Regions from separate parts of the Homo sapiens genome. Here regions 2 and 3 are each linked to region 1. The links are contacts of gene promoters, found by promoter capture Hi-C in blood cells and fetal thymus (Javierre and others, 2016). All regions are on one chromosome and are shown on one strand. Each heading gives the region's core, a stretch centred on a gene start or on the middle of the fragment in contact. The rest is flanking DNA. Distances are from core to core; before and after follow the strand shown.

Region 1 (3,948 bases), core at 546-3,045:
TTCCCAGAGGTCATCATTGAGGGAATAGGGGGGCCTTCAGATCCCATTTCTGACACCAGAACTGTTAAAAGAGAAACTTTACACAAAACAAATTCGAGTTTATTCGAGCAAGAAAACAATTCATGAATCAGGCAGCATGCAGAAGCAGAAGAGGTTCAGAGAGTTCCACTCAGCAGCATGAGCAGCAAGCTTTTATAGACCCAACACGGAAGCAGAAAAATTACTTGATTGGGTTTTGGTTTGCTTGCATAGGAGCTGGTGTTACAGAGTTGATCTCAAGCTAATGGCCTCCTTATTTGCTTTAGCACCCCACACCTGAACCCAAGGGAAAGCTTGAAGGGAGCCCAGCACCGAAACAAACTAGTAAATGCCTGGGGGCAAACAACAGTGTTTTTATCAAGTAACCATGACACATACATCTTCCTCAGCAGTGGCAGAGCAGTCTTGTAGAGTTAGATAGGAAGATGATGGCCTGGCCACGCATGCTCAGCTGCTGGCCCGGCTCATTCTACAGGTATTAACCAGTATTTGGCCCACAGTGTGCTAAGCACCATTCTAGGTGCTGAGGATGCTAAGGTGACCCCAACAATGTCCCTGATCTCTTAAAGCTAATTCTGGTGGGATGCTGAACACAGGATGTAACCTAAGGTGGTGATGAGAGGTACACAGACAAATCGGAAGGCACAAGTTAGCCACCAGTGAGGGGAAACTCCAGACAACGTAGACACATAAGGCCAGGTGGAGAAATGGATGACTGAGTTAAACTTGGGTAAGGAGCCTGGCAAATGAAGACAGAAGCATGACCCAGTCAGGGGAAACCACAACAAAAGACGTTTGGTGGGAACTGCCTGTTTCTTAATTTCCAAAAATCAGTTAAAGGTTCATATACATTATCTCATTTCAACATCACTGGTAGAAAGATTCCATTTTTATGGAGAGGGGATCTGAGGCCCAGAAAGGAGACGATCTGTCATCGTTTTCCACTCAAGGGCAAACATGGGGATATCCCATCCCATCCCAAAGCCTAAGATTTTGCACTCCAGGCCCTTTGTCTGACCTGAAATTACTGAGCTAAAAGGGACCGAAAGATCCTAATGGAACCACCGATGGGAAAACTGCGGCCCAGGAGGAAACACACCAAGCAAAATTGCACCGTATCCAGGTGGCCAGTCTCCAGACTGGGGTCTCCCTGCCCCGCCAGACCATCTCCCGGCGACAAGGGTCTCAGGTTTCCGAAATCTCGCCACCCGCGAGTGATTTGCAGCGCAGGGGCCTCTGCTGCCTCGGAAACCTTCAAAGGTGGGCGGGTCGGGGACCAAGTCCCCCTAGGGATGGAGAAGGAAACGGGGCCAAGGAAAAGGACATCGCCACCCTGGGCAGAGCACGCACGGCCCCAGCGACTCGGACATGGTGAGGGGCGCGGAGGCTCGGGGTGGACCCGAGGCCTCCACACATGTGGCAGGCTGCAGCAACCCGCCACCCACGAGGACTCGCCCAAGGCCCAGAGCGCGCCGGGCCCCTCCCTCCGACTCCGTCGCCGCCCGACTGGCCGCAGCGGAAGCCGGCGCGCGATCCCACGCTGCGCTTTCGCCACGTCCTGACGGCTGCCCGATAAAACGGACATTAAAATTGCACTTTCCACTGAATACAGCAGCGCCTATTGTGGCGGCACACCTGAATGCGAAAATTAAAGCCAAAATATTTCCTAGCGGCTAAAAGAGCTCCAAGCCTAGGCGAATCTGCCGGTCCGCTCGCCGGAAATGCGGGCTCTCCTGCCGGAAGCTGCCCCTCCACCATTTTGTGGCCCGCTATGGCGGCGGTGTTGAGGTTGGGTACGGGATGCGGGGTCTTTGACTGAAGGGGTAGGCCAAGTGGAGGTATCAGGGACGTCGCGCGGCACAGAAGAGGACCAGCCTGGACGCCGGGGACGCTGTCATGTACGGCGCGAGCGGGGGCCGCGCCAAACCCGAGAGGAAAAGCGGCGCGAAGGAGGAGGCCGGGCCAGGCGGTGCCGGCGGTGGGGGCAGCCGAGTGGAGCTCTTGGTTTTCGGCTATGCCTGCAAGCTGTTCCGGGACGACGAGCGGGCCCTGGCTCAGGAACAGGGACAGCACCTCATCCCCTGGATGGGGGACCACAAGATCCTCATCGACAGGTCGGTTCCTCTCCCCACCCGTCGATCCTTCCCTTCCCTCACCCGCTTGATCTCGTCTGATGTTGACTTGACTGCAAGGACTGCAGAGAGTTTTCTGGAGCCAGCGGGGATCTGGGGGACACCCCCTCCCCTGTCCCCACCTCCTCCTGGTGTTCTGGTGGGGAGGGGGACGGTGAAACCTGCCCTAAGGCACTGGCTGGAATTGCGTGCCGCGTCCGTCTCCGGAGGGATCGTCTCTGGTCCCGCAGCCCCTCTCGACCCCTCACCCTGTCGCTGGGCTGCAGTTGGCGATTCCGCGCGGTGAAAGCAGCCAGTGCCCAGGGTCTTTTCCTGAGTGCACCTGGGCCTGCCGCCCGGCGATGCCATGGGGTCGTGCGCTGCTTTTCTACTTGCCGCGCTCTCACTGCTCGGTGTACTGGGAGGGTACCCTGGGAGGCGTGCCTTTATTCTTCCGAACCGCCGCTCACTGAGACAGTGGCTAGAAGTGTCTCTTGGACCTGTGAGTTAGCCTTAACCTGTTATGCCCCCAGAGCCCTCAGTGGAGCGCCCGTACTTTGCCGGCATGACGTTTGATTTCCCGGTGATAATCCGACGAGTTTGACAGATTGAGGTAGTGAGCAAAGTTGCCCGTCAGTTGGTGGCCACTTGACTTCGTGCGGACCCTGGCCTTGCTCTTGGAAGAGATAGTGTTCTTAGGGCTGGTTTCACTGTCTCTTAAGACTGAAGGGTGGAGCTGGGATATAGATGTGTTGTTTCTTTTCAAATCAAACCTGCTTTAGGTCGTCACTCGAGGGTGTCTAGCGATTATGGGCAGTGGGGGCCTGGGATTAGGGATTTCTAAAGGCGTTTGATTTGAAAAGGATAACATTACATGATGTAGGTGGTTTGCTCCCCTCTTTCTTCCCATTTTTTCAATCCCCCTTCCCCTCGTCTCTGGGTTTTGGGGTTGTTGTGGGGTGGTTTTTTTTCTTTTTTGCCTGTTCGGCTACTTCTGGGGCCCGGACTGAAAAGCTAACCATGACCAACCATTAAACTGTGGAATAGTCTCTCCACGTGAAGAAAGCCCATCGTTTGAGACCATTAAAACTGGATTCTTCATAGCCCTGGAGCATGACTGTAGGGATGACCTCTGAGCTGGCCAGAATGGACACATTAATGACCAAATAGGCCTTTTTCCATCCCTGACGTTTCCTTTTGGAATTAGAGCTCGAAAACGAGAACTGGTGAAGGGAGGGCCGCGGAATCAGATCATGTCTGGATCTGATGGCTCCGTGCTGTGCTCAAGCGTGCTGTGCCTTCACACCATGGTTTATATTGAATGTGTCGCCTGAGTTGTCAGGCTTGCTTTTCCAAAGTGTCACTTGTGTTATTTATCATTAAAGTTTGGTAAGCAATGAAGTCTGAGCTCTTTGTACAGTTTTCCTATCATTCTGTACATGATTTGAGTTAGGTCTTCCAAAACTGGTGGGGAGCAAACGCCGCACATGTACATGTATAATATTTTTAATAATAATCTACATTTGTAAGTTAAGGAGGTTTACATCAAAATCCAATTAATTTTGAAATTTAATGAAATGCAGTAACTTGACTACCTTGGAATTTTGGGCCTTTTTCCTGTAAATGTCTTTTTTGGTCTACATTAATATTTTTGGTTCCCATTACAAAAGTCAGCATTAAAAAAATAAGCAGACTTTTGTTTGTTTCTCTACATTTGTTTTTGAAACCCTAAACCTGAGTGTTTTAAGTAAAGTTCACTAACTCATTCATTTATTATCTGACAGTTACACGTTGACAG
Region 2 (3,948 bases), core at 404-2,903, 610 kb before region 1:
CCCTCCCTCCCTTCCAGTTTCCTAAGGCTGTGTGCAGGTCGTGGTGGAGTCAACATTTAACACAGGTTGCAGGGTTAAGTAATACAATGACAAATCCATGGCTGAATGTGTGTTACAACTAGAAAGTCCCTGTAGTAAAGAGAAGGCAGTGAGCCACTATCAGGATCACCTAGATTGTCACCTTCTGCCTCAGTCCACTCTGTGGACTTGAAAGCTGTGTTGAAGCAGTGAGGTTTGCAGACCCTGACGTGTGCATGCCATTTCTTCTTGATCCCTCCTGAAGTCGGCCTCATTATTCAGACCATTGTGTGGAAGAAGAATGTATAACGTTACATGCAGAAGCCATGGAGACTCCAGTTTATGGGAGATCTCAGGAGTTTTCAAAGGTCATTTTGATCATCTATCATTTTTACCTATGGGCTCACCTTATAACTCAAGCACCATGTACCATGTGACCCTCCAATATGTCTGGCCTTATGTTTCTTACAATCATTTCAAGGCTGCCTGGTCAGGCTATTAGCTCAGTTCAAGGGAAGAGCCATATGTCTTTCTTTTTAGTACTCCCCATTGTGCCTGGCATGATGCTGGCTTTGGGTGGGTTTGATAAAAGTACATGATAAAGAGACTTGATTGATGGTGGGGTTGGTTCATGGTGGGGTTGGTTGATGGTGAGGTTTGCTGGTGGTAAGTTTGGTTGAAGATAGGGTTGGTTGACAGTAGGTTGGTTGAGGGTAGGATTGGCTGAAGATAAAGTTGGTTGATGATGGGTTGGTTGATGATGGGTTTGATTGATAATCAGGTTGATTGATAGGTTGGTTTATGATGCATTTGGTTAATGGGTTGGTTAATGGTTAGGTTAGTTGGTAGTGGGTTGGTTGAAGGTGAGTTTATGATGAGTTTGGTTGATGATGCGTCAGTTGATGGTAGAGTTGGTTGATAGTGGATTACTTGAAGGTAAGGTTGGTTGATGGTGGGTTTGGCTGATGGTGGAATTGGCTGGTAGATTGGTTGATGATGGGTTGGTTGATGGCAAGGTTGGTTCATGGTCGGTTTGGTTGATGTTCAGGTTGGTTGATGGTGAAGTTGGTTGATGATGGGTTGGTTGTTGGTAAGGTCAGTTGATGGTGGAGTTGGTTGATGATGGGTTGGTTGATGTTAAGGTTGGTTGATGGTGGAGTTGGTTTATAGTCAGATTAGCTGATGATGCATTGTTTGAACGTAAGGTTGGTTGATGGTAGGCTTGGTTAATGGTAAGGTTGATTGATGATGGGTTGGTTGATGGTGGGTTGATTGATAATGGGTTGGTTGATGGCATGGTTGGTTGGCGATAAGGTTGATCGATAATATGGTTGGAAGGCTTAAGGCATAAGTGGGTAGGTGTGGGTCTGGGGCTAGGGCTAGACTCCCATTTGTCAGAAACTCCCAGTAGAATGGGTGGCCAAGAACGGAGATTAAGATGTTTTAGAGAGTTGGCTGACCAACTGCAGCCCAGTGTGCAGCGAACTCTCATGTCAGCCCACTGGAACCTCACTGCATTTGCAAATAGATGAGCTAAAGCTTTATTTTCTCAATTTAAAAGATATTAATCAGTGATGTAGATTTAGGAAATCTGTCTGTTGAATCAGTGGCAGAGTCAGATGGGTAGATGTGAGGGCTCTTTCTCCCCTGACGCCTTCAGCAAATACCTCTGGTTACCATTGTTCCCAGTACTGCTCACTGCTGTTCTTAGAGCTGCGAGATGAGGTAGGAAAAGCTTCCCTAATGCATCCTCAGGGCTTCCCGTGTCCCTGGGGGAGAGACGATGCCCCATGAAATGCAGCTATGGTGTCCGAGAGTGATATGCATCCCTCTGGTGGGACATGAGATGACTTGGGTAGAGCAGAGATGATCAGGGGTGGGGAGGAGCCAGGGCTTTGTGGGGTGGAGACCTGTGTGGGGTGCATCTCTTGGGGGGCTTCCCAGGGCAGTGGGCCAGGCAGGCTTTTGGACACCACTGCTTTCTTTCCTTTACTAGCAGTGTTTCCACTGATTTTTCTTCTTTTCTTTCTTTTATTTTTTTTCTTTTTCTTTCTTTCTTTTTTTTTTTTTTTTTTTTTTTTTTTGAGATGGAGTCTGGCTCTGTCGCCCAGGCTGGAGTGCAAGTGGCACGATTTCGGCTCACTGCAACCTTCACCTCCCGGGTTCAAGTGATTCTCCTGCCTCAGCCTCCTGAGTAGCTGGGATTACAGGTGTGGGCCATCATGTCTGGCTAATTTTTGTATTTTTAGGAGAGACGGGATTTCACCATGTTGGCCAGACTGGTCTCAAACTCCTCGCCTCAGGTGATCTGCCCGCCTCGGCCTCCCAGAGTGATTACAGGCGTGAGCCACTGTGTCTGGCCTCCATTGGTTTTTAACTGAATTCAGTTTGGTAACTGCTGAAGAGCTGGACGTTCGTTTCCAAGAACCATTCCCTCTGCTGAGGCCCAAAACTCTTGTAACTGACCCTTACTTCCATCTCTAGGCAGAGATCAGTGTGAGAGACAAGACTTTTCAGTTGTCTTAGAAAGATTGCATATCCAGTATAATGTCAGTGTGTCCTGTATTTGGTTTTATTCTTAGTTTCTGAAACATCTCACTTCCTCTAAAACAGCACTTCTTAAACCACATCTCTATTGCTGTCATTGGGTCTCTTCCCTTCCTCCTCCAAAGAGTTTAAGAGATGCCAAGTTGAACATAGCTGAACAGGGGGGTTTATTTTACCTGCAGAATCCTCAGAACTCTTAAGTGGCTTTATATTCATCCAAAAAGTCTTTTAAGGGGTGCAGAGAATGGAGCTTTTTCCAAACTTATCTGAAAGCAGAAACATCATTTCATGGACAATTTGCTAATAATGTCATGCGGAAACTGGAGTGTCACACACTTAGCGTGGGGAATGTGGCCTAGAAACTGAGTTCCCTTCACCCACCGCGGCTATGCGATTAATGGGAGTAGCTCTTGGCCCGTCGGTCTGCAGGTGGAGATGTTTGTTTCCATTGCCGAGAATGCTGCGGTGGGAATGCACTGGCAGCACCCGCCTGTTGAGGAACTTGTTTTGCCAAACATACTCGGCAGGTGACTGATGAGTGCCTACCCCTCCCACAAGGCCCCTTCTGCTGGCAGAAGATGCCTGTGACCTCAGCTCCCACCTGGTGGAGCAGAGATGGGCAGCACTGGGCAGCCTCGGGCCCCCGGGAGGCCCCTGTTCGCCCACAGCGTCCCAGGTGCCCTGGGTGTTGCCAGGCAGCGATAGGGAGTGGGCTCTGGGCAGAGTCGGTGTGAGTTCACCAAAGTCTCCACCTTGAGTTCCTCAAGCCCAGTGCAGGAGAGCCCATGAGGGTCAGGGGAAGCCAAGATGGAGGCACACACCCAGGGGACATCGTGGCACCTGCTGCAGGGAAGCCCACGGGCATGGCTGTGATTCCCAGGGGTCAGAGGTCAACAGCCTGAAGGTCTTCTCAAATATGGGAGGCCAGGCCCAGGAGTTGAAGGAAAAAGGTTTATCCATGGGAGAAGGAGTAGTGGGGCTCTCCTACCCCTAACTGCATGATTCTGCAATAACCAGAAACAAGAACAAGAAACCGCAGCCATTCTCCTGAGGGGACGGGGGCCCCATTTCTTCAAAGTTCCCTCTCATCCTCAGGGATACTGATGGGCTCCCCTGTGACTGCCCCTCCTCTCTCCCTGGGGCATCATGAACCTGGAAGGGGGATTCTTCCGTCTCCCTGGCCCTGGCCACGCAGTGCCCACCTTTCCCGTGATAGCCACAACGTCCGTGGAGAGGGAAGTCCAGCCCCTGGGAAATTGGAAGTTGTGCGCAGGTCCTTGCCTGCTGAGGCCTGAGCCGGCGTTCAGCACAGGTGGCTCTGCCCAGCCCTCAGCCTCTCTGCCTTGTCCCTGAGCCGGAGAGCACAAAAGGGCCCCTCCAGGG
Region 3 (3,948 bases), core at 980-3,479, 570 kb before region 1:
CAGGCATGGGTCCCCATCGCCATCCATGGCCCTCCCAGCCCTCCCTGGGCTACTCAAGTTGCGTCTGTGTCTGCAGGCCAGTGGCACGTCTTCCGGAAGTGCCTGCCCTTGCCCACGCTGAGCCTGCCTGGGAACCCACCTGCTGCCGCACCTATGCCCACGCAGCACCCCCTCTCTGAACTCGGTCCGAGCAGCTGCCTGATTCTAGGTTGGATCATGGTGGGACCCAGGACGCCTCTCCGTCCTCACGGGCCCCAGGTCATGGGACCTGGTGTCACAGTGTGCGGTGCCAGTGCCACTCCCAGGCTGCATGGGAGGAACCTCCAGTGTTCCTAACTACGTGCAAAGGGCTCTAATCTCTGCGTTTCTTCCCTTTCTTCCCAGGGACTGTTCATATTCCTCTTTCATTGTCTCCTGAATTCAGAGGTACGTCCGCTCTGCTTGCTGGCAGGTGCAGGTGCAGCTGGCTTTTCCTTTCCGAAAGGTCACAGGAGCAGGAACAGCGCTGCCCTGTCAGGGTGGTGTCTGGGACTCAAATCCTGAGCCAGCCACGTTCCTGATGCCAAGTTGTGTGCCCTGGGGCCTGCTGCTGAGCAGCTCTTCTCTCCCCGCCTAGTTGCTAAGCGATATGCAAGCATCCTCTCTCCCTGGAGAATTGGCGACTGCATCTTAGGGAGAGTGAGATGTAGGCGTGCTCCCCACAGTCCTCCTCGAGGGCCTTGGGGAAGCTGGCCTGGCTGTGAGAAGGAGGACTTCTGTCCACGGGAGCTGGGAAGAGGAGTTTTGTGATGTGGCCTCCTTGGACTCTGGGGCAGCCAGCGCAGGCTTATTCTTTCGGTGCTGCTCTGGGCCTGGCACCTGCCATGTACTTGGCTGGGGGGAGGTAGGGGCTGCCCCAAGGACTTCTGTTCCTGTGGGAGAACTTTTCCCAAGTCAGCTTTGAGCCCCTACCAGGCTGAGGTTGTGGGAGCTGCCTTGGGATGGGGAATGGGCCCAGGGCAGAGGGGCCGTCCTGCCCGGTCCATCTCAGTGGCGGTGTCCGTTTGCAAGGACAGGCCAGGTGGGCCAAGGAGGGCAGAGCAGAGTCGCTGAGCAGGATGGTGGCCGGGCAGAAGGGCTGCATGATCACAAAGCCCAGTGACCCCTTGATCGCAACGCCCAGTGACCCCTTGCAAGGCCTGAGGTGGATCCCGGTGGCAGGAAGGCAGTGCAGCCATGGAAGCCCGCCCGCCCACCCGCCTGCCTGCCCACCACGCATTTGTTTATTTGCTTCTCTCTCACACTCACCCCGGGACATTCATTGCTGAGTGTGAGGAGCCCAGCAGAGGCCACTCCACACCCAGCTTCCCTGGCCTGCGATACAACCTGGCTCTGCCCCACAGAGCAGCGATGCACAGCTCAGCTGTGGAGCCAGCAGCTCCGACTCATATTTCCAAATCCCAACCTCCCTCGCACATCTGGTTCCGGAGTTGCACCGGCACAGACTCCTCTGGTTACGGCTGTTGCAGCCTCTGAAATTGCTCTCACGATCCCTTCCCCGCTTTCAAGGTGAGAGCCGCCTTCAAGCACAAAACCAAGGTCTGGTCGCTCACGAGCAGCTCTGCCCGCACCTCCAACGCGAAGCCCTTCCACTCGGACCTCGTGAGTGCAGCCTCCATAAACCGAGGGTCCCAGCCCATCCTCCTTCCCCAGGCTCGGTTGTCAGCAGGATGGGGTGTGCAGGCAGCAGAGGTGGCTTCGGGTGCCCAGCAGTCTTTGTCCCCCTCTCATGCCTGCAGGCTGCACGTGCTCTGGGCTTGTGTCCCCCACACAGTGCCCTGTGTCCTGATGAAGTCACCACAGCCCTACCCCTTGACCCCGAAGAGTCAGGGCTTCTTGTGTTCACTTAGGGATGGAAGGACTTAGAGATCAACTGACCGTGAGGTGGCCCATCCCCGCCGCCCTCCAGAGCCCAGGCAGGCCCCCAGGCAGTCTGGAGCAGGCCCTGTTAGGGTTCTCACTGTGCCGCTGCTTCCCCCCTGCTGGAGCCCTGCTCAGGTGTCCCATCCTCAGGAAGTCCTTCCCCGCACACGGTGCTCAATGAAGGCGCTCCCACCCATTCTCGCACTCCGCCCCCGCCCGCAGCTGTGTGATTTTCCATTTGCTTAGGGACCACGTCTGCCCTGCTCCATGGGAGCTGGCTGGCTCATGGGCTGCTCTAGCCCCACGGCTACAGCTGCGCCGGGTGTGTGGCACGCTCCATGAGTCACCGTGGAATGAACGCAGCGTGGACAGATGCATGGGGGTGAAAGCGTGGGTGCCGGGCAGATGGGTGAGCAGAGGAGGGAGTGAGCGCTCAGCACAGCACGCCTGCAGTGCCCTTAAGGGGAGTCAGCGTGGAGAACCGTGCGGCTGGAGACGCCACAGTGCGCACATCCTCATCTCCCCCAGGAGCATGGGGGCTCCCTTCTCTCTGCACCTTTCCTCCCGCAGGGAGAATCCTCGGGCAGCTATGGGCCCAATGCTCCCCGCACTCACTGGGCTTATGGCTCTCCCCCTGGGAGCAGGCCCTTCACTGCTCATCCCTTTATGCTTTGCAGATGAATGGGACCCGGCCAGGCATGGCCTCCACCAAGCTCAGCCCTTGGGACAAGAGCAGCCACTCTGCCCACCGCGTCGACCTGTCAGCCGTGTGAGCCGGGAGGCTGCCAACCAGGCCAGGCTGCGCTCAGAACACACCCCCCCAAACAGAATGAAATGCCCCACCTTTGCCCATGGACCCTCTCCTTGCTGCTGTCTGGACATGGGTGTTGTGGCCCCGAGACAGCTGTCCTCCCCTGTGACTCTGGCTGTCGGAGCACACTGCTCAGCCCAGCAGCCTGATGCCCAGGCCAGCGTGGGCCCTCCTGCCTTGCATCCACCCGTGGGCTGAGTGACTTCCTCGGGGGATTCCCAGGACACAGTGGCCTGACTGTGATGGTGCCCTTGAGCCTCCCTTCATCACTCAGCATCAGACCCAGCGAGGCCAGGACACTCGGGGCCGGTCCCGCAGCACCAGGAGGGGATGTTCAGCCTCTGTGCCTTGGTGGGGCTTGGGGACTCAGGGCCAAAGAGGTGGTTCAGGTCCCCACGCACCCTCAGTCAGGCGCAGGCAGCTGGGGGTGTGTGGGGAAGAGCATGCGGAGTCCCCAGTGTCTGAATCCACTGAGTGGTGAGTTCCCCACAGCCGGCGCTAGCCGTGGTGTGTGTCTCTGTAGGTGGTGCCGGCGTGGGCCAACCTGTGCTGTGTCATCAGTTGGGGGCCCCTGCCCAAGCCGAGCTCGAGCCGTGGGCGGGAGTCGTTGACTCTCCAGGTGAGGGCGACCCCTCTGCCCTGTCCTTGGGGGGGTCCCCTCTGCTCACGTGAAGAGCCGCTCTGGGCCTTGAGGCTGCCTGATGGTGCCTGTGCTTGGGGGAGCTTCTCGGCCATCCGCTGTGAGTTTTGCCTCTTTGGACCCCAATTCGGCCTTAAGATGCCCTCCTCCCTCGTGTGCCAGCCTCCTTGGTTGTTCTTGGGCCACAGGAGCTGGCCGTGTCCCCGCAGTGCCTGGTGTCCAGGTGGAAAGTGGAGGGCATTTTCCAGGGCACTGCTTTCCCCAGAGGCTTCCTCATGGCTCACAGGCACTCTACGAAGTTTCTAATGGGCAGACCACGCGGCAGGTAGCACAGTGCGCTCCGTCTGGTCACCATGAGACCGACCTGCGCTGAGTCCCCACTGACCTGGAGAGGGAGGGCTGGTGACAGCCGTGTCTTCTGTGTTGAGGGAAATTTATGGACTCAGATTCAGCCCCAGAGGAGATGGGATAATTGTTATGGACCCATGTGTGGGCATGATCCTGTGGAACACAGGTTTGGGATCATAGATGTGAATTAAGACACCACCGAGATACGGGCTGTGAGGTTCATACTGTGCTGATAGCACTCGTGGTG

The links. The method cuts DNA at HindIII sites, captures the fragments that hold promoters and counts their contacts. A CHiCAGO score of 5 or more calls a contact.
Region 2: a contact is called between a fragment that was not itself captured here and the fragment with the promoter of SFSWAP in region 1, in 6 of 17 cell types (megakaryocytes, M2 macrophages, M1 macrophages and 3 more). The highest score is 11.5, in megakaryocytes.
Region 3: a contact is called between a fragment that was not itself captured here and the fragment with the promoter of SFSWAP in region 1, in 1 of 17 cell types (M2 macrophages). The highest score is 5.2, in M2 macrophages.

The regions. Positions count from the first base shown.
Region 1 is chr12:131,709,295-131,713,242 of GRCh38, forward strand. It overlaps SFSWAP (splicing factor SWAP), which reads left to right and starts at 1,796. Exons shown (of 18, transcript NM_004592.4): 1 at 1,796-2,153. The coding sequence starts at 1,936. RefSeq lists enhancers at 1,351-1,440, 1,581-1,870, 1,961-2,030. The HindIII fragment of the contact is 11,852 bases long and covers 331-3,948 here.
Region 2 is chr12:131,099,303-131,103,250 of GRCh38, forward strand. The region is part of intron 15 of ADGRD1 (adhesion G protein-coupled receptor D1); the gene reads left to right. Among named protein-coding and RNA genes, the nearest start is that of LINC01257, 64 kb to the right of the region's middle. The HindIII fragment of the contact is 196 bases long and covers 1,556-1,751 here.
Region 3 is chr12:131,136,589-131,140,536 of GRCh38, forward strand. ADGRD1 (adhesion G protein-coupled receptor D1) reads left to right here. Exons shown (of 25, transcript NM_198827.5): 23 at 385-426; 24 at 1,549-1,641; 25 at 2,580-3,948. The coding sequence ends at 2,675. Among named protein-coding and RNA genes, the nearest start is that of LINC01257, 26 kb to the right of the region's middle. The HindIII fragment of the contact is 9,971 bases long and covers 1-3,948 here.